Linked DNA regions of Homo sapiens: region 2 is linked to region 1. Evidence: promoter capture Hi-C in 16 types of primary human blood cells and fetal thymus (Javierre and others, 2016). All regions are on one chromosome and are shown on one strand. The core of a region is centred on a gene start or on the middle of the fragment in contact, and the rest is flanking DNA. Distances in the headings are between cores, read along the strand shown. Region 1 holds the start of SMARCC2 (SWI/SNF related BAF chromatin remodeling complex subunit C2). Region 2 holds the start of NABP2 (nucleic acid binding protein 2).

Region 1 (4,317 bases), core at 1,345-3,844:
ACACAAGCCTGCACAAATCCAAATCTCAAGTCCCCTTTTAACCATGCCATGAGAGACCTGTGGACTGATCCCAGGTACTCTGAAATAATTTGTTGCACAAAATATTACTAAGACAAAAAGAATGGTAAACTGGAGACTAGGCCAAGCCAATAATGCCCTGATCAGGGATAGGGATGGTGGAAAATAACCCAAATTTCAAAAATTACAAAATTCACAAATCTTTTTTTAAAATACAACTCTTCAGTTTGAAGGATTCACCACCACCACCCCCCACCCTCCCTGCTACTTCTGCACTCACCGGCAGTTTAGTGAGCGGTGCATTGCTGACATGTTTGCCAAAAACTTCTTCCTGAAATTGTAGCAACTGTACAACCAGGCTAGACAGGGACTTGTTGGTGGGTGGTTCAGCTTGTATATACTAAGGAAAAAGAGGGAAAGGAAAGAAAAATAGATCTCAGATAAATTGTCCACTATCTCCCATATTTCTCCCCCAGGGGCTCTGGAAGCATGTGGAGCAAAGAAAATAGTGCCCTTCTCCCCATTTAGTCTCTATAAAGAAAATGGCAAAAGGGAGGCCCTGGACACCCCAACCAGGAAGCTGAAATTCTGCTGCCACCAGCCCAGGTGGCCAGTGTTGGGGGGAACAGGGAAGCTTACTACTCTTCCTCAGTTATACTCTGAAATTGGAGTTGCAGGACCCTATTATCTTGGCACCTCATCTTTAACCAACAGCACTGAGGGTTGTAAAATTCTGGAGGTTTATAAAGTTCAGGTCATGGAAGCAATACCTCTGGGGCTCTAAGAGAGACATTTCTTAGGGGAACTCTGTAAAGCCATGATTCCCCCTATAATGTAGCCTAACAAGAAAAGGTACAAGGAAGTGAAGGAGGGCAAGTTGACTGAGTGAGCTTGTGCATTTTGCTTCTGAAGACTGGGTATAAATGTCTTCATAGGCCCTCCTAGACAGGAAGGGCCATCCACTACCCAGCCTGATGGAGAAGAGCAAGACAACATCTACCCTGTCCGAGGAAACTGTATCTGAGACAAGTAACCCTGGCCCTACTTCTATGTTTCCACACTCTGCTACCTAGTAGCATCCTAGCCTTCCATTCTAATTTGAACCTGAGCCAGGAGACTTTCTTTTTACTTTTTGACCCGTTTTCTCCCCACTCATCACAAAGAAGACAGTGCCTCTCAGTGAGAGGTGAAAAGAGATAGATCTGTGAAGGGAAAGGTAAATGACAAAGAGCTAAGAGCATGGAAGCTGAACCAGGTCACAACTGTCAATTCCCCCAAGGCCGGAGGCTAAGCCCCTAGCCTGATCTCCCTGCAAAAGGTCAAAGGTAGAAGCCTGGGAATAAGAGCCTCTCACAGGCGTAGAGACATGCCATAGAAATAGCAGCTATTTGTCAGGATTCTCACACCCAGAGAGACCCCAAGGGCAGGGCCAGGCTCACAACCAGCATCAGTAGGAAGTTCTCCTAAGCCACTAAGCACACTTCTGACGAGCTGCAAAGCCGGCAGGAAGAACTGGGGAGCTGAAAGAAAGCCATAAAGAGAATCCCTCTCTGAGGGTAGTGAGAAAAAGAGAGGCAGACCATTTCCAGAGAAAACCAGGCCTAGAGACAAAGACGACACCAGGAAGAGGTTTGGTAGAAAAGACAGGTAAGGATTCTTGAACCTTTTGTTCACCACCTTATGATCTCCAGTTATGGGGTTTGGGTGTGAGGGGCTAGAGATAGGAAGCTCACCCTAACCTCTCGACCCCAAACCCAGGGTACTGCAAAGCTAGGTTGCAAGGTGACTTCATTGTAAAATCGAGGAAAGGTTTCGGAAGGGGCCGCTACCCAGGAACTCCTATACCCCGGCTCCCTGAGAGATTCTGTTGCCCCTTAGATGAAGGTGGGGGATGAGCGGCGGAGACAGGTGATCCCTGGGTGGAGACCTTTTTCAGGCTGATGAGCAGCCAACGGCTTGCTCTGTGACTGTTTACCCTCCTGCTTTCCATTCTCTCTCTCTGAACATACACAAAGCACCGGAGAGGCCTCAGCCCCGCTGGTACCTGGCTCCGTGGGGAGCTCTGGCGGGCACGCTCCGGGTTGCGGGGGAGCCCATTGGGCACCCGGTCCACACCCGGCCGGCCGCCTCTCCCAGAAAAGCCAGGAGGGCGATGGCTGAGGGGAAGGTGGGCTAATGGCACCGGGGCCCGCCGGGCAGTAGAGAAAAACAAGGGGCAGAGGGCGCAGCAGTGGGGGCGGGGGCTGGGCTCAGAGGCTGGGGGTGCGGGGAGAGGGAGGCTGGGGGAGGGGCGCGGGAGCGCAGGAGGGCGCGCGGGGGGCTGCTTGGGAGGCCGCGGGGGAGGGGCTGGGGCGCCTGGAGGGTAGGCAGGATCCCGGGGCTGCAGGGCCGCGGTCCCTTTGTCCCGCCCCCGGTCCCCGCGCGGCCCGGCCCGGCCCGCGTACCTTCTTGTAGTTCTTGCCGAGCCACAGCCGCACGTTGTCGAACTGGGTCACGGTGTCCGCGGCCTCGTAGTACTTCACGTTGGGGCCGCCGTCCTTCTTCCGCACCGCCATCTTCTCCGGCTCGGGCCCCGCCGCCGCCCGCCCCACTCAGCTCAGCTCCCGCCTCCTCCGCCTCCTCCTCCGCCCGCCTCCCGCCGCCTCCCGCCGCCGCGGCCGCCGCCTCCCGCCGCCTGGGCCGGCCCCGGTCCGCGCTGCGCCCCCTGCCGGCAGGCCGGGCGCGGCGGCGGAGCTCCAGGCGCGGGCCGACCCTGGCGGCCTCCCCGGCAGCGGAGGCGGGAGCCTCCGGGGAGAAGGACGCTTCCTGGAGGGGGCGCCATTCTCCTGAGATCGCTCTTACCAGACGCGAAGCCCTTTCCCTCTTTTTGCCTCAGCTCGGGAGTGTCACCTCGCTATCCCACTCCAGGCGGCCGCCAGTCGCTGGAGCAGCCCCAACCCGTAGACCCGAGTGGTCCTCACCTTGCGCATTCCTAACCCGACGAAGCCCCTCGTCCCCCAAAACCCCAAACCCCTTTCCCCAAGAAGTTCCTTCCTTCCATCCATTCACAGCAGCTCCCCATTTAAACTTTTCAGAGTCTCCCTCACTCCTCGCGCCTTGTCCACCCAGCACTCCCCTCACTTGTTAACCCAAATGTCCCCTAGTCGCCACCCTGGCGGCCCAGTGCCTTCCCTCAACTGCTTCCTCCGCAGGCCTCGCTGTCGCCTCCTAAGTAGGTGTGAGCTCCTACTCGAGACCCCGACTCTTCGCTAGGCAGGAGACCCTCCCTCCCTGGGTCACCCAGTCCATCCGACTCTTTTTCTTTGGGTGGCGTAGATAGGAGGTAAGGAACCGAGGGGTGGGGAGTCCTCAGGTGTGTGTGTGTCGGGGCCGGTACCCTGCTTCCGGTTCCCGCACGCATTCCCGGATTGCAGTGCGGACCCCTTCTGTAAGCGCGCGATAAAGCGCGGTTTTGGAAGTCACGGTGGCCGAGTGGTTAAGGCGTTGGACTCGAAATCCAATGGGGTTTCCCCGCACAGGTTCGAATCCTGTTCGTGACGGGTTTTTTTTTTTTTTCTTTCTTCTTCTTATTATTAAAAGGGAGTCTCGCTCTGTTGCTCAGGCTGGAGTGCAGTGGCGCGATCTCGGCTCACCGCAACCTCCGCTTCCCGGGTTCAAGCAATTCTCCTGCCTTAGCTTCCCGAGTAGCTGGGACCACAGGCATGCGTCACCATACCTGGCTAATTTTTGTATTTTTAGTAGAGACAGGTTCACCATATTGGCCAGGCTGGTCTCAAACTCCTGACCTCAGGTTATCTGCCCGCCTCGGCCTCCCAAAATGCTGGGATTACAGGCGTCGACTTTTTTAACCCCTTTCACAGCACATAAAGGTAACCCCAGTTCTCACACGTTTCTTTCGTGCACTTTCTCTCTCCAAAAGGGAAGCCGCCAAAAGGTCTTAACCCCTGGATTTGGGAGGATGGGAGTGATCTTGGGAAGTTTAATTATGCACGACTGTATTGGCTGCTAGACTGTGAGGCATTTTCAGAATTTTGTAACTTCAGGCTTCCTGGGAGAGCTTTGGCACATGTCTCATTCTTTTGAGGGCATAGGGAAGGATTTGGTTGAAGGGTTACATTTTGGGAATGTGAGTGGCTGTTTTGCAATATTAGTCAAACTTAGAGTTTCCTCTAAATTTCATGACCAGAAGTCACACCTTGTAGGTCTGATTACACCGAAGACCCAGGAAACAGGATTCTCTCATCTGGATTTCCTTGAGGTGTACAGGGCTAGAAGGGAGTAGTCTATTGAAACATCATT
Region 2 (4,027 bases), core at 1,059-3,558, 35 kb after region 1:
GGAGGGACGAAGGCTGGCCAGGCCTCCACTCTAGACAGGAAGTCTAGTCTAGAGTCTATATGGTCCCAGCCAGGACTATGTAGCCATTTAGGAGGGAGAACTCTATGTTCTTCCCGGCAAAAACGTGTGGGCCTGGCCGGCCACGCTTCGCTTTGGAGGGGTGCAGGTGACTTGTGTCTTAGAGCTGACGCAGATTGTTGCGAGATCATTGCGGAGAGGCAGGCCTGCAGCGTGACCTGCTGCGGGTCCGGCCCCTCTCCCTTTTCCAGAGCCCTGGTCAGCATCCCAGAGCTTCGTAACCCCTTGACTCCTGTCATGGGAATGGATATTGCAGTTAACAAGGCGGCCGCGGGGTGGGGAGTGAGGGAGTCTGACCGCAAAGCTTAGATCTGGGGTGCTCAACGGGTTGTCTGCCTCTCTCCCAGGCGCTCTCCTGCCGTATCCACGATGGCTCCCCGAACACTTGTGGAGTTCCCTGAAACACCTAAGAGGAAGGAAGGGAGAAAAAATTTCCCTCTTCCTGAGTTGGGGTTTGATTTCCTTAGCTTACAACACCGTGGTGTTGGGGATGTGGGCGGTAGAGAACGTGGGATCCAAGGGAAGTCAATGTGGAGCCTAAAGAGCTCCGTGAGCAGATAAGGGATTAATTAAGCAAACCAAGGCATTACAATCACATGACTTCCTAGACTAATCTGGTATTAAATAGTATGGTATTTATTGTGGACATTGGCTAAGCAAATGCTAATGCACATTAATACACACATACACACATATCTTTATGTAATTTGTTTATACACAACAATACAGAGCTAGCTACCTTTTGTGGACAATTTGACAGGTCCCAAAAGGAACTAAAGTTTCAGGCCTCCTTTCTGCTGTCTTCTAGCGGGACTCTGAGATAAGTAAGATAAGAGTAGTATGGCCGGGCGCGGTGGTTCATGCCTTTAATCCCAACACTTTGGGAGACCGAGGCTGGTGGATCACGAGGTCAGGAGTTTGAGCCCAGGCTGGCCAACGTGGTGAAACCCCGTCTCTACTAAAAATACAAAAAAAGTAGCCGGGCGTGGTGGCGGGCGCCTGTAATCCCAGCTACTCGGGAGGCTGAGACAGGAGAATCGCTTGAACCCGGGAGGCAGAGGTTGCATTGCAGTGAGCCGAGATCGCGCCACTGCACTCCAACCTGGGCGACAGAGCAAGACTCCTTTGCCGGGGTGGAGCGGTGGGGCGGGGCGGGGAAGAGTAGTATGGCCAGGTGCAGCGGCTCACGCCTGTAATCCTAGCACTTTGGGAGGACGAGGTGGGCGGATCCCTTGAGGTCATGAGTCCGAGACCAGCCTGGGAAACATGGCGAAACTGTCTCTACAAAAAAAATACAGAAATTAGCCGAGGGTGGTAGTGCGAACCTGTAGTACCAGCTACTACGGAGGCTGTGGTGGGAGGTTGCAGTAAGCCAAGATTGCACCACTACACTCCAGCCTGGGTTACACAGCGAGACCCTGTTTCAAAAAAAAAAAAAAAAGGGACTAACAATGTTTCTCTCTTTGTCGCAGGTTCCATTTCTTCCAAGAAGGGTGAGCCTGCCTTTTGTCTCTGGTGTAAATGCCACTTTTCCCAGAGACCTTGACCAAGCTGGGTAGTGCATTAAAGATGAGAACCCCAAATCAGGAACAAAGATAACGGTTAGAGCAATAAAAAGGGAGGAAACCGTGTGTGCCTACTGTGTGCAAGGCACTTTTTTAAATATAACTTCCGTTTTCTCGTAAGATGGAATTACATATTTTTTGTCTTTTTTTCCCTTTTTGTGGAGAATGGGGTCTCGTTATATTGCCCAGGCAGGTCTGGAACTCCTGGACTCATGCTATCCTCCAGCCTATGCCTCCCTACGTGCTGGGATTACAGGCGTGAGCCACCGCGCCTTGCGGAATTGGAATTACATATGTTTAAATAGTCGAGAAATGAAGTGAAGCATTGAGCCAGGATTCAAACTTTTGTCCGCCAGATTCCGAAGCCCTTGCTCCTTTTCCCATTGTGTCACTCTTTGGAAAGAAACGTCTTAGAACCTAAGTGCATTCTCCCTAGCCAAGTTAAGGAAAACTGGGGGCCCTGTGCGCCTTCTAGTGGTGGATTTTTCCCCCTACAGAGCCAACTATCTCCAAGGTTCCTTTAATACCTGAAATTCGCCCCCTTCGCGGCGCACGAGTCTCTGATCCCGATTGGCTGGGCAGGGCAGGCGGCGGGACGCAGGGCGCGCCCGGGCGGTGCTGATTGGCCGGAGGAGGCCAGCCGGGGGAAACTTCCGGGAATGTCCGCACTCCCGCGTTCCACGGGGCAGCATCCGGCGGCAGCGGAGCCTGTGGCTCCCCCTGCGGGCTGCTCAGCGGCGTGCACAGTCCTGCCGGCTGGCTTGGGTGGGTGGTGGGCTGCGGGTAGGGGAGGGGATGGACCGAGTCCCGGCTTGTCGGGATGAGGGTTCCGGAAGATCTGGCCAGTAAGATTCTACTCCCTGGCTGTGCACCGGGTTCCCTACCCCTGTCTACGTCGGCTCCGCCACTTCGCGGCTTGAGACTAAAAGAGCATCCCGGCAGGGGGCCTTCCAGCCCCAAAGCAGCCTGTCCAGAGACCCCCAAATTCTGATCCTGAAGTTGGAGGCCTCCGGGGATGTTCTTTTTTAATCTTTTAGAAGGGTTAGAGGGGTTGAGGCTGCCTGACCCCAGCCTAATGGGGTAGGTAGGCCTTGGGAAGTGGAGCATGGGGGCAAAGGATCCAAGCATTGAGCCTTCATCCTCTATTCCCCATCCAGTGGGGTGCCGAGGCTCAGGCAGCATGACGACGGAGACCTTTGTGAAGGATATCAAGCCTGGGCTCAAGAATCTGAACCTTATCTTCATTGTGCTGGAGACAGGTGTCTATACTGGGGTGGCGGGTTCGCGGGATGGGGGTCGGGGGCAGGAGGGGAAGAACGCTGTCTGCGTTCTTAACTTGCTATGGGGATGGCAAGGCAAGCTGCAAGACACTCCTCACTCCCAATCTCTTCGACCCTGGGACAGAAAGTTGCAGTCAGGTATAGGGTAGATAGAACTCTTGCCAGATCTAGACCTCCTGTGCGACGCGGGCCTCTTTCCACTCAGGGCCCTCTCCATGGTGCTGGCCCCTGAACTCCCACCTCCACCCTCCACCACCCCTTCCACAATCCCAACCCTTTATGCCCCAGGGATTTGGGCTTTCCCCTGTTTGTACACCTTTTCCCTCATTCCACCAATATCCACATCTCATCCTTCTGAGAGATACCACTCCATTTATTTGACCATCCTCCCACCTCGATTTATCTGTTCCGTTCAGGCCGAGTGACCAAGACAAAGGACGGGCATGAGGTTCGGACCTGCAAAGTGGCGGACAAAACAGGCAGCATCAATATCTCTGTCTGGGACGATGTTGGCAATCTGATCCAGCCTGGGGACATTATCCGGCTCACCAAAGGGTAAGTCAGCTGGTGACTTCTGGCCTTCCAAAGGCAACAACAATCAAGAGTGGGGTTAACAGTCCCTATAACACTTCTGAGTACTGAATTTTGCTTTTTTTGCCTCCCATAGGTACGCTTCAGTTTTCAAAGGTTGTCTGACACTATATACTGGCCGTGGGGGTGATCTGCAGAAGATTGGAGAGTAAGTGCTGTCTTGGGGATTGGGATGAAGAAGCACCAGGGCAAAGGGGTTTGCAAGGAGGCAGCATAGGGTGTGCAGTCCAAGCCTCATTTCTGGACTTTTTCTGTTTGTTTGTTTGTTTGTTTTGAGAAACAGTCTCTGTCGCTCAGGCTGGAGTACAGTGGCATGATCTGGGCTCACTGTAGCCTTGACCTCCCGGGGTCAGGTGATCCTCCCACATCAGCCTCCCAAGTAGCTGAGACTACAGGCGTGCTTCACCACACCCAGCTAATTTTTTTGTATTTTTTATAGGGATGGGGTTTCGCCATGTTGCCCAGGCTGGTCCCAAACTCCTGGGCTGAAGTGATCCTCCCGCTTCTGCCTCC

The links. The method cuts DNA at HindIII sites, captures the fragments that hold promoters and counts their contacts. A CHiCAGO score of 5 or more calls a contact.
Region 2: a contact is called between the fragment with the promoter of NABP2 here and the fragment with the promoter of SMARCC2 in region 1, in 2 of 17 cell types (endothelial precursors and megakaryocytes). The highest score is 14.5, in endothelial precursors.

The regions. Positions count from the first base shown.
Region 1 is chr12:56,186,889-56,191,205 of GRCh38, forward strand. SMARCC2 (SWI/SNF related BAF chromatin remodeling complex subunit C2) reads right to left here and starts at 2,595. Exons shown (of 29, transcript NM_001330288.2): 1 at 2,463-2,595; 2 at 299-418. The coding sequence starts at 2,573. It overlaps TRS-CGA4-1 (tRNA-Ser (anticodon CGA) 4-1), which reads left to right and starts at 3,476; the gene lies at 3,476-3,557. LOC107984468 (a long non-coding RNA gene) reads left to right here and starts at 3,804. Exons shown (of 2, transcript XR_007063330.1): 1 at 3,804-4,317. RefSeq lists silencers at 2,332-2,551, 2,622-2,901 and an enhancer at 3,142-3,241. The HindIII fragment of the contact is 5,408 bases long and covers 651-4,317 here.
Region 2 is chr12:56,222,034-56,226,060 of GRCh38, forward strand. It overlaps NABP2 (nucleic acid binding protein 2), which reads left to right and starts at 2,309. Exons shown (of 7, transcript NM_024068.4): 1 at 2,309-2,408; 2 at 2,801-2,902; 3 at 3,340-3,478; 4 at 3,591-3,662. The coding sequence starts at 2,824. RefSeq lists enhancers at 1-781, 81-300, 782-1,715, 1,132-1,426 and a silencer at 2,158-2,397. The HindIII fragment of the contact is 18,635 bases long and covers 381-4,027 here.